Regions from separate parts of the Homo sapiens genome. Here all the other regions are linked to region 3. Evidence: promoter capture Hi-C in 16 types of primary human blood cells and fetal thymus (Javierre and others, 2016). All regions are on one chromosome and are shown on one strand. Each heading gives the region's core, a stretch centred on a gene start or on the middle of the fragment in contact. The rest is flanking DNA. Distances are from core to core; before and after follow the strand shown. Region 1 overlaps XYLT1 (xylosyltransferase 1). Region 2 has its middle 460 kb from the start of XYLT1. Region 3 holds the start of RPS15A (ribosomal protein S15a). Region 4 holds the start of XYLT1 (xylosyltransferase 1).

Region 1 (2,867 bases), core at 129-2,628, 1.4 Mb after region 3:
TCCAGCTCTCAAGGGGACTTGTCCCGTGGCTCTGAAAGGCTGGACAGGCCCATGGCTGCCCCTGGTCCCATTTGGATGTGTGTGTGCCTGCACATGTATGTATACACACTGGCATATAGTGTACACGTGTGTGCAATGGTGTGGGTGTGCATGGGTGCACATTCGCACCCAGGTGTCTGGTGCCCCTCCCACCTGTGGCGAGAACCATAATCATTTCTTTTGAGTTTTCGTCTGTCCTTCGCTCCTGCCCAACCATCATGCGGAGGTTCATGCAAAGGAGAGAGGAGACAGAGGAGAGCCATGAAGTGGGAAGATGCTACTCTTTGATGCCTGAACTTGGAGGACTTTTATTCCTTGGCAGTGAGGGCAGCATATGGAAGGAAGTTGCACCCTTTCATCTGCTTGCGTGTTAGGCCATTCTGAGGAATTGTGATTGCAGTGGCATTTCCGTGTGGGGAGGAGGATGACCAGCGGGTCTTGTAAGGGAGGGCACGGCCCTGACTGTCTGCTTTCTGCCTTCCTGGGAGCTAGGACAGTGCAGCAGCTATGAGTATAGGCCTTGGAGTTCAACAGAGCCAGGTGGAATTCCACCTCTGTGTCTTCTAGCCCTGCAGTGTTCATGGGGCCACATAATGTCTAAGCCAGTGTCTTCGCATCTGAAACGTCATCCCAGTGATAGTGCCCACCTTGCAGAGTTGTGGTTGAGGGTCACAGGAAATGATGTTTATAAAGTCCGGGGTACGTGCTAAGTGCTTGTGAGTGGTAGCGTTTTTTTTTTTTTTTTTTTTTTTTTTTGAGACCGAGTCTCTGTTGCCCAGGCTGGAGTGCAGTGGCATGATCTCGGCTTACTGCAAGCTCTGCCTCCCGGGTTCACGCCATTCTTCTGTCTCAGCCTCCCCAGCAGCTGGGACTACAGGCGCACGCTGCCACGCCCGGCTAATTTTTTAATATTTTTTCTAGAGACGAGGTTTCACCGTGTTAGCCAGGATGGTCTTGATCTCCTGACCTTGTGATCCGCTCACCTTGGCCTCCCAAAGTGCTGGGATTACAGGCATGAGCCACTGCGTCCGGCAAGTGGCAGCTTTTTAAACCAATAGAACTGTTACTTTTCCTGCTGGATCTGAAGGGGACGTTTCTTATCTTTGGATTAATCATTTCCTTAGCTCTTTGGGTTTGGCTGACAGTAAAGAGAGTAGGCAGACAGGACAGGCCTCGTTCAGAGCCCCACAGTGAATAGCTTGCAAGTGTCAGACACAGTCAAACCTGTTCGAACGTTTCAAGGCTGAATGACAGCTCAGCGATTTCAAGGGTTTCTGGGGTGGACTGGAAAAGACCACCTGCTCCCCTGGCCTTTGCCTCCTCCACCTTGGGTCCTTGCCCTCTCCTTGGCATCTCTGCTTGGGTTCTCCTAAGAGGAATGAGGAGACCTTCCTTGCTTCCTCCCTGATGGGGAAGGCCAGCAGATCTTCACAGTTTCCTTGTGCTTTTCTGTCCTTGCATTCTCTGGCACACAGGTATAGCCACGGGGGCCCCAGGGCTGACCAGGCGCCAGGGCCGGCAGGGAAGTATAGAAGGTGCAGCTCTGAGGAGGAAAAGGATTCGGTTTCCTCTGCCTGTTTGGCTGTCCTCTGGCTTGGTTTTGTCTGTCCTTATCACCTTGACCACCTTTGCCTTATGTAAATTTCATCTATTCTATAAAGTCACCTAAAAATACATTTTTCCTTAACATAACTCACTTTGCTTTCAGAAATAGACTTACCTTAATCTAATGGTTCTAAACCGGGGGGTGGTTTTGATTCCCAGTGGTTATTTGGCAACGTCTGAAGACATTTGGTGGTGGTCTCATCTGGTTGGGGGGTTTACAACTGGCATCTAGTAGGTGGAGACCCAGGTTGCTGTTAAATATCCTACAACACACAGGCCAGCTCCCCACTGGAAAGAATTATCTGGTCCTGGGCCTGGCACGGTGGCTAACGCCTGTATCCCAGCACTTTGGGGGGCTGAGGTAGGCAGATCACTTGAGGCTAGGAGTTCGAGACCAGCCTGGCCAACATGGTGAAACCCCATCTCTACTGAAAAAAAATACAAAACATAGCCAGGCATGGTAGTATGTGCCTGTAATCCCAGCTACTTGGGAGGCTGAGGCAGGAGAATCACATGGACCCAGGAGGTAGAGGCTGCAGTGAGCCAAGATTGAGCCACTGCACTCCAGCCTGGGTGACAGAGTGAGACTCGGTCTCAAAAAAGAATGATCCAGCCCTAAATACTAATGGTGTTGAGATTGAGAAACACTGTCTCAAGCAATAATATTCATGGAACCACAAGTTTGAAGGGCTAGTTATATATTTTTTTGCACAACATTAAAATAGATATTAAACTGTGAAAATATTGTTCCTGTACGCACCCTCTGATGTCACCTAAACTTCCTATCAGAGATGTGTGTGCTACCCTTTGGGAAACGTGTCTCTACCCAGTCTACCCCAGGGACTATGAGAGAACTTCCACGGTGTGTTTTTAAAATGATGGTCCTTCTTTTCCTTATCCTTCCCCAGAAGGATACCCTATTAAACTTATGAAAACCCATGGGCGAACATCTGTGTCCGGAACTCTGGAAGTCAAATCTTATCTCCTGGGAGTGGAACAGCAGAATCCCTGGATGGTTCTGTCTTTGACCTTCCTGTATCCTTCACTCTGGACACCACCCCATCAGCCCTTCAAAACCCTCATGGGAAAGAGGAGTTGCAGACCAGTGGCTTTGGCCAGCACCTGAGGCTTCCAGCAGCAGCTCCTTACACAGTGGCGACTCTTAAAGTCCAATCTGTTAGCCCAAGGGACCTGAACCTCCATCTGCAACCAGCAATGGCACA
Region 2 (2,821 bases), core at 23-2,522, 1.8 Mb after region 3:
ACCAATTGAGACTACTAGAGTAGGAAATGTTACTTCATCTGAGAAATCTCAACCCACCTCTGCACAAAGGGTGTTGATGGGTTCAACGGAGAGGTGTGGCTGTTGAAAGGCATCACAGCCCTTCCAGGGGCGAGAGCTTGCGCACTTACCCCTGAGTCTGAGGTCATGTAACCCCTGCCAGTTCAGCCGGGACTTAAAACCGTAACTAATGCTCCTCTCTCCTCTCCGCAAGATCATCAGCCGTCGAAGCACCGCCTCTACTGAGTTCACTCCATCTGGAATCCTCTGGGGAAAGAAACATGGATTGCGTACACAGCAGAATTAGCCTTTTGTATTTCATTGTGTGTCTGTTGAGGCGGCGGTGAACCAGATGTGGTTTTCGGCAGACATAACTTCAAAAGCCGGAAACACACTTATCAGGAAACTGCAGAACATGAGGCAGCCGGCAACAGTCAAGGTCACTGACAGGTGACGTGGCCAATAAAGGGAGATTAAAAGCCATGACTTGTCTGACACGGGCCCATTTGATACTTACCAATGGCAGGATACGGAACATTGCCTACTCTTGATGGGAAGTCATTGAACATAGTGTAATTTCTTAGAAAGTGAATCCCTGTCATTTTTCTCTACGATAAAAAAAAAAGGAAGGAAATAAAATAAAATCCAGGTAGCTCTCTGCTGACGACCAAAATGTGTTTATTTACTGAATACCATTTACCATTGGCCAGATTTTTCTGCCAAATATTCTCTTATTGGATCCTCAGTACAACCAAACGTGTTCTCAAATTAATAATTATCCTGCCTTTACAGTAGGGAGAAGTGAGACTCAGAGGATTTGTGGTAAACTTTCCAAGCTAGTCAGTGACCAGCCAGGACTGTAACCCAGAGATTATGTTATAATGCTTACGCATGGTGACAGCGCCTTACTCTAGGTGAAGGAATGACATCCAGATGGCATTGTTTTCTGGCAACACGGACAACTGGAATGCAAAGCAAACCCTACCTAATTTTTGGACACCATACTTTCTGCAGCCAAAAAAACAAGAAATGCATACTCTAAAGAACTGCTGGAAACGTTTATTTGCATGCCGGGCGGCGATGCCAGAGTCCCCTGATTCTGCACTACGTGGCCTAGGGAAGATTTTCATAAATCAAGCTTTCTTCTATCCCAAATAACATTTTATGCATGCCAAGGAATCTCACTATTTAAAAAAGCTCATTCACAAAGCCTCCTTCTGCTTTTCACCCACCCGTGTATTATTTAGTGTAGGTTTAAAAAAAACACAACAGCTTGAAATTCAGGTTTAAACCAGTGGGAGCATCTACTAAGAACAAACCAAATTAAGAAGAAATGATTCTTCAAATATTTGGTATACTAAATAAGCTTGGCCCAGAGGTAAGCTGTGGTCACCTCTTCCTTTGCATTTTAAATAAATTTGGCCTGAGCTTATATCCCACATCCTATGAGTTGAACATCTTGCCAAGACTTTTGCAGATTCCTCAGGGTTCCTGTTTCTTTTGATTATTTCTACCTCCAAGTTCCTGCTCCCGTTTCTCTCTGTCTCACATTTATTCTCTTCTCTCTGCACTGCATGGACCCAGAGAAAAACTCAGCCTCTTTCTCTGACATTCCCCACACCGCCTGCCCAATATATTTGTCATTGTCAGTACTTTGGGGTGACCCAGAAAGGTTCTATCACAGCAACACCAGTGCCTTAAAATTGTATATTAGATATCTCAGGTCTGCTCGACTCCAAAATCTCAACCTCTACTTCCTACCTCCTCAACTGGGAGGATAAGCTCTGCTCCAGCCATTACAGCCCCTTGTGATTCCTCCATCACGCCAAGCTTGTTTCTGCTTAGGGGCCTGTGGACTTGCCAGACGGCTGTCTCTCAGCCTCAAGACACATTCACTCATTTCCCCCACGTCTCTGCACAATGTCACCTTATAACACGAGCCTTCCTGATCATCCTTCATTAGAACACCTTGGTCTTCTCCCTTCTCCTTTGTCTCCATAGCTCTCATCAACACGTGAAATATTGCGTATTTTCTTGCATTTTTTTTCTGTCTCTCCTACCAGAACTCATGCTCCATGAGGGTGGCAGTTTTGCCTGTTTTGTTTTCTCCAGTACCTCCAGAATCTAGAATAGAGGCATGCATACCCAGTGGAATATTGATGCATTTTATTGACTGAGTCAGAAGATCACTAAAGAGACTTTCCATTTGGAGTACTATTCAGCCATGAAAAAGAATGAGGTCCTGTCATTTGCAACAACATAGATGGAACTGGAGGTCATTATGTTAAGTGAAATAAGCCAGGCACAGAAAGACAAACTGCATGTTCTCATTTATTTGTGGGATCTAAAAATAAAAACAATGAACTTATGGAGATAGAGAGTAGAAGGATGGTTAACAGAGGCTGGAAAGAATAGTGGGGTGACAGGGAGAATGTTAATGAGAACAAAGAAATACCTAGAAATAAATAAGGCCAGGCATGGTGGTTCGTGCCTATAATCCTAGCATTTCAGGAGGCCACGGCGGGCAGATTGCCTGAGCTCAGGAGTTTGAGACCAGCCTGGACAACATGGCGAAACCCCATCTCTACTAAAAATATAAAAAATTAGCCAAACGTGGTGGTGCATGCCTGAAATCCCAGCTACTTGGGAGGCTGAAGCACAAGAATCGCTTGAACTCAGGAGGCAGAGGCTACAGTGAGCCCAGATCATGCCACTACACCCCAGCCTGGGTGACAGAGCGAGACTGTCTCCAAAAAAAAAAAAGAATAAATAAGACCTACTATTTGATACCACACAGGGTGAC
Region 3 (2,700 bases), core at 111-2,610:
AAAAAATAAAAAAAGCTGGAATCTTCATGTCTCACTTTCTTTATAACTTAGCCAATATAATATTTATGATTGGATTTATGAATCTGATTAATGAAGTACCCTGTGTGGTCCTTAGATGTCTATAAGGTACCCTACCTGTAATCCCACCACTTTGGGAGACCTGGGCAGGAGGTTCACTGGAGTCCATGAGTTTGAGGTTGCATTGAGCTGAGTGTACCCCTGCACTCTAGCCTGGGCAACAGAGCAGGACCCTGTCTAGGAAAAATTTTAAAAAAGAACAAAAATAAAAGGTTTAAGTTTTATTTAGCAAATATCCAGGTACCATGCTAGAGGGAAGAGGAAATGCAACGAATGAGCAGGGGCATTGACGTGTGAGAGAGGACGAAGCTGGAAGAACCGGCAGGGACAGAACTGGCTAAATGGTGCCTGTGTGGGCACCTCGTACCCCAGGGCCTTGCTAGCGTCTGGTACATGGGTGCTCAGTAAACAACTGTTGGGTGACTTTTGTCTGAACTTAACTTTTTAATTAAAAAAAAATTTTTAGCCGGGTGTGGTGGCTCACGCCTGTAATCCCAACACTTTGGGAGGCCGAGGTGGGCAGATCACTTGATGTCAGGGGTTTGAGACGAGCCTGGCCAACATGGTGAAACCCCGTCTCTACTAAAAATACAAAAATTAGCCGGGTGTGATGGCGGGCGCCTGTAATCCCAGGTACTCTGGAGGCTGGGGCAGGAGAACCGCTTGAACCCGGGAGGCGGAGGCTGCAGTGCGCCAAGATCGCGCCACTGGACTCCAGCCTGGGCGACAGAGCGAGACTCCTTATCAAAAGTAAACTAAAATAAAAATTAAGGCCCGCGCGGTGGCTCCCGCCTGTAATCCCAGCACTTTCGGAGGCCGAGGCGGGCGGATCGCAAGGTCAGGAGATCAAGAACATCTTCGCCAACTTGGGGAAACCTCGTCTCTACTAAAAATACAAAAATTAGCCGGGCGTGGTGGCGCATCTCTGTAGTTCCAGCTACTCAGGAGGCTGAGGCAGGAGAATCACTTGAACCCGGGAGGCGCAGGTTGCAGTGAGCCGAGATCACGCCACTGCACTCCAGTCTGGGCTACAAGAGCGAAACTGTCTCAAAAAAAAAAAAAAAATGTAGACGAACCTCCAACGAACGGCTCACCTTGCCTCTCCCAGGCCCCACCGGGGGAGGTCGATTCCATCGACTCTCAACTGCCAACCCCTGAGGAGGCTCCGCCTTTCCCTCACCCTCGTCCTTCTCCTAGGCGGTCCTTGTTTTTGCCGGGCCTTTGAAAGTCTCGCGATAGCTCTCCCGCTTCCCATAACTCCGTGCGCTCTCCCCTCCCGTCCTCTTTCCGCCATCTTTCCGCGCCGGTGAGTAGCACTCTCTGAGAGCTCCAATTTCATCCGTCTGCCATCGGCGCCATCCTGCAATCTAAGGTTCGGTCTCGGTGTCCTGCGAGGAGGCTGGTCCCCACCTTGGCCGAGGATCCTGGCCTTGCCGGTTCCTGGACAGGCATAGAGGAGAGCCATGGCTGGGCGCCCCAGACTGTGCACTCAGGGGATCCCGGTCCGTGGGGTGCAGGCCGCAGCGCGGGCGGGAGCCGGAGCCTTCGACTGCCCAGCTAGGCGGTAGCTCCGGTTCGGGCCGCAGCGTCTGGATCTCCCTTTAGTGCTGAGGCAGCGCCTTGGCCCCGGGCGGCGGGCAACATCGGGGCTGGTGGGCCGTGCAGCTTCTCACTGCTGCGGCCGCGCTGGGAGCTTGGGAGGCTGAGGCCACCCAGCAGGTAAAAGCTGCATCGTGCCGGGGTTGGCAGTTTGCTGGGTGCCAACTTGGATCTTCTGGGCCGCAGAGTTTTTCTTTAGACACTTTTGAACTTAAGGAATTTAAGTTCTACTCTTTACTATTGGCACTTTGGTCTTTCAAAACTTCAGTGTAGTGTGCGGTTCTTGCCCATTAGAAGAGAGTCCAGTCTGACAAGCATGTAAAATGTTTCTGTTTGCCACTGTGGCTCTTGCTGTTGGACGCAATTTTAAATGGCACGAAGATGGATGTTTAATAGTTAGATGTGTTCATTGTAGGTGAGAGTGAACTGATTTAAAGTACAATGTTAATAGTATGGAATCTGCTGATTTTCAGCAATTTGGAAAATGTTGCCGATGATACTCTGCTTCTGTTCTGAATCACTGATCGACTATACCCGATGTTTTCCTTCCGGTAGCTGGCAGTTTCTGCCAGTTCTCACGTTGTCTTGTGTCAAGTGGATTTTGTCCCACATTTTATTATCTCCAGACGTTGGTGTGTGGCACGATTCGAAGAAGAGTGGTTAGTGAATGAATGAGTTTCAAAATGTGCAGGCTGACGTCCCGATAACCTGTTTTCAACAACCGTAGTAAATAGGAATTTTCCTGGGTGGTGGGAAATGGAGAAGCAGCCTGCTTAGACTTGAGAAAACTTCGCCAAGGTGGGGCCAGAAAGGAAAGGATACTTCCGCAGTGTAATGGTTGGTGTCTGTTGATGTTGGCAATGCCAGTAAAACCTCCTGTTTTGTCTTCCTTGAACAGCCACAATGGTGCGCATGAATGTCCTGGCAGATGCTCTCAAGAGTATCAACAATGCCGAAAAGAGAGGCAAACGCCAGGTGCTTATTAGGCCGTGCTCCAAAGTCATCGTCCGGTTTCTCACTGTG
Region 4 (2,895 bases), core at 328-2,827, 1.3 Mb after region 3:
GATTCTCCTGCCTCAGCCTCCTGAGTAGCTGGGATCAGGGGTGTGTGCCACCATGCCCGGCTAATTTTTGTATTTTTAGTAGAGACGGGGTTTCACCATGTTGGCAAGGCTGATCTCGAACTTCTGACCTCAGGTGATCCTCCTGTCTTGGCCTCCCAAAGTGCTGCGATTACAGGCATGAGCCACCGCGCCCAGGCCTATCTCACTATATTTTAATGATTAACATCCACATCAGGCTTCTCTAGACCTCAGGCTTGCTGAAGATGAGATTAAACCTCATTCACCTTTGGATGCGTGCACCTGGCCCAGTGTCTGACACAAGCTTTGTATTCACGGATGCTTGTGGAGTGGATGAAACAATCTCTTCCCACTCCCTGCCTCATTGTCTGATGAGCCTTCATTACACTCCACTTTCTTCTCTTTGTAAATTAGGATGAGGTGAAAAAGCACAGCAGACAAGATGCGAAGCATTCACGCCAAGTCCTCAATTCACAAACTGATTTGATCTGCTGTTGTATTCCCAGAGTGCTAGGTCCCGTATGGGACACCAACGCCATCCCATATGCTCACTGTTCTGCGCTGCTGTGTATAAAGCCCTGGGCAAGAGGACAAGGGAGGGAAAAACCAGAAAGACTGAGTCAGAGAAGGCTCGGGATGAAATTTGAGTCCATTGGGATCATTCTGCCTAAACGACAGAGGAGAAAGCTTGGGCTCAGGGAGGAGTCCTCCTCCTCCTGGCTCAAGGTCACCGGGACAGACCAGTCAGGATGGGAAAGAACTCCACTTTCAAGAGCAAGACCTGTTTCCCCAGGACCTGGGCCCTGTGCAGACAGGAAGGGGGACTTCAGGATGGATGGGGAAAAGGACACGCTGGGAGGCTGCGGGGCCAGCCTTTGGGGCTTGCATCCTGCGAAGGTTGAGTAACTCCACGGGTCTCCCTTTTGCCGCTATACCACTTGCCAACTGGGTTTGGAGTCTCTTGGCTTGTGAGTCCTCAGGGACCAGAGAAGTGACTCAGTGAACACTTAGTACATCGTTGGCACCGGGGATTGTGTGTGATTCAGGAGTCACTCACAGAGCTTGTGCTGATTAACTCCAGAAACTCACCCAAAGCCTCCTCCCCACCCCTTCAAGCCCAGGATGAAGGGATCAGACTGTGGCTCTGACACTCCTGAAATGTTTCTCACGTGTCCACCTGCCAACCGGTCTGGTACCGACAGAAGATCCCTGGACCGCGAACTCCGGGGCTAGGAGCTTCCTCCACGCACTGCCTCCTTCCAGCGGCCCACAGGGAAAACAGGACCTCGGGACCCCCTCTCTTCCTGACCTCCCCTGGATTCTGAGCGGGCCCACCCTCAACCAAAGGTCCCCTGTTTCGCGGCCCCTGCCTCTCTTTTTCCGCCTTGGGAATTGTCCCCCTCGCCCCCCATCCTACTCCCACTACGTCCTGAGGGGTGTCTGTCTTCTCTGATCGCCCCCACCCCCTTCCTTTCCCTCCTCCTTTTCCTCCCTCGGCTCCTCCCCCAGGCCCCGCCCTCTCCGCCTCGGCCCGCGTCCCCCCGGCGCCTTCCCCATCACCCTCCCCTCCAGCGGGGACAGGGGTGTGGGGAGGGGGGCGGCGGCGGCGGCCCGAGCGGGAGCCCGAGCGGCAGCCGGCGGCCGCGGGAGCTGCGGGGAGCGCGGGGGCGGCCCGGAGCGTGCCGGGGTCCCCGCGCCTCGCTCGCCGGCCGCGCTCCGAAGATGGTGGCGGCGCCGTGCGCCCGGAGGCTGGCCCGGCGCTCGCACTCGGCGCTGCTCGCGGCGCTCACGGTGCTGCTGCTGCAGACGCTGGTCGTGTGGAATTTCAGCAGCCTCGACTCCGGGGCCGGGGAGCGCCGCGGGGGCGCAGCGGTCGGCGGCGGGGAGCAGCCGCCCCCGGCCCCGGCCCCGCGCCGGGAGCGCCGGGACCTGCCCGCCGAGCCGGCTGCAGCCCGAGGAGGAGGAGGAGGCGGCGGCGGAGGAGGAGGAGGACGGGGGCCCCAGGCGCGGGCGCGGGGAGGCGGCCCCGGAGAACCGCGGGGACAGCAGCCGGCCAGCCGGGGGGCACTGCCCGCCCGGGCTCTGGTAAGATGCCCTTTCGGCTCGCGCCCCGCGGCGAGGGAGGGAGGAAGGCAGCCCGACCCCACGCCCCCCTAGCCCTTGAACTCGGTCATCAGACTGGGACTCTGCAAGCCTACCGACTCCACATCGCCTCTTGCCCCGGGAAGCCGGGTGGGGTCCCTGCCAAGGCTCAGGGGTCGTGGGCTGCCCCTTTCAGAGTCTGAGCACGGACCCCTTGGGGTCTGGGGGAAGTTTTCTCCAGCGGGGGCGCTTTGGGGGTTACCGGAGCCTGGCTGGGTTCCTGTTCCCCATCACTCTTGCTGGGGACCCCAGGTGACTTGCTCCGTGCGTGTAGGTCTTGGTGACTCGCTCCCTGCCTGAGTGAGTGGATCTCCCCGGATCCTCAGCCGCTGTTCCTGGGCGGTTGTCGCAGCAGCATCTCTCTGGTTTTTGCCGAGCTGGGTGCAGACAGTTGAGCCCTCTGTTCGTCCTGGCCTGCGATGAGGGCTGAGCTGGGCGTCCCAAGTCCCCGACCATGCCCCTGAATCAATACTCAGTCCGGGGTGTCTGGTCTTACTTTGGGTCTTCTGTTTCTCTTCTCTGGATGTTTGAGCCTTCCGTCTTCACCTTCTCTGTCTCTAACCTTGCCGTCTCCCATGCCCTCTGTGACTTTATCTCCTCCCCATCTCCAGTTTCAGGGCATGGCTCCTTCTCCTAGCTGGTTGTCTCTGTCTTTCTGTCTTGTTGCGGCCGGTTCAGGTCACCAGCTGTGTGTCCGACCACACCGTCAGGGCTTCCACTCCTATGGGATTACTT

What was found. The method cuts DNA at HindIII sites, captures the fragments that hold promoters and counts their contacts. A CHiCAGO score of 5 or more calls a contact.
Region 1: a contact is called between a fragment that was not itself captured here and the fragment with the promoter of RPS15A in region 3, in 1 of 17 cell types (M1 macrophages). The highest score is 5.5, in M1 macrophages.
Region 2: a fragment that was not itself captured here is called in contact with the fragment with the promoter of RPS15A in region 3 in 1 of 17 cell types (total CD4 T cells); the score reaches 5.1 in total CD4 T cells.
Region 4: the fragment with the promoter of XYLT1 here is called in contact with the fragment with the promoter of RPS15A in region 3 in 1 of 17 cell types (total CD4 T cells); the score reaches 5.0 in total CD4 T cells.

What each region holds. Positions count from the first base shown.
Region 1 is chr16:17,355,101-17,357,967 of GRCh38, reverse strand. All of the region lies in intron 2 of XYLT1 (xylosyltransferase 1), which reads left to right. Among named protein-coding and RNA genes, the nearest start is that of XYLT1, 110 kb to the left of the region's middle. The HindIII fragment of the contact is 3,736 bases long and covers 1-2,867 here.
Region 2 is chr16:17,011,336-17,014,156 of GRCh38, reverse strand. No RefSeq gene overlaps it. Among named protein-coding and RNA genes, the nearest start is that of XYLT1, 460 kb to the left of the region's middle. RefSeq lists enhancers at 213-312, 350-494 and a cis regulatory region at 413-430. The HindIII fragment of the contact is 228 bases long and covers 1,159-1,386 here.
Region 3 is chr16:18,788,994-18,791,693 of GRCh38, reverse strand. It overlaps RPS15A (ribosomal protein S15a), which reads left to right and starts at 1,360. Exons shown (of 5, transcript NM_001019.5): 1 at 1,360-1,450; 2 at 2,576-2,700. The coding sequence starts at 2,581. ARL6IP1 (ARL6 interacting reticulophagy regulator 1) reads left to right here. Exons shown (of 6, transcript NM_015161.3): 6 at 1-25. RefSeq lists enhancers at 1,123-1,752, 1,690-2,407. The HindIII fragment of the contact is 4,087 bases long and covers 1-2,700 here.
Region 4 is chr16:17,469,642-17,472,536 of GRCh38, reverse strand. It overlaps XYLT1 (xylosyltransferase 1), which reads left to right and starts at 1,577. Exons shown (of 12, transcript NM_022166.4): 1 at 1,577-2,103. The coding sequence starts at 1,741. It overlaps LOC107987234 (a long non-coding RNA gene), which reads left to right and starts at 2,110. Exons shown (of 2, transcript XR_001752091.2): 1 at 2,110-2,895. LOC105371106 (a long non-coding RNA gene) reads left to right here. Exons shown (of 3, transcript XR_933144.3): 3 at 433-1,530. RefSeq lists enhancers at 1,082-1,583, 2,358-2,407, 2,528-2,797. The HindIII fragment of the contact is 8,582 bases long and covers 708-2,895 here.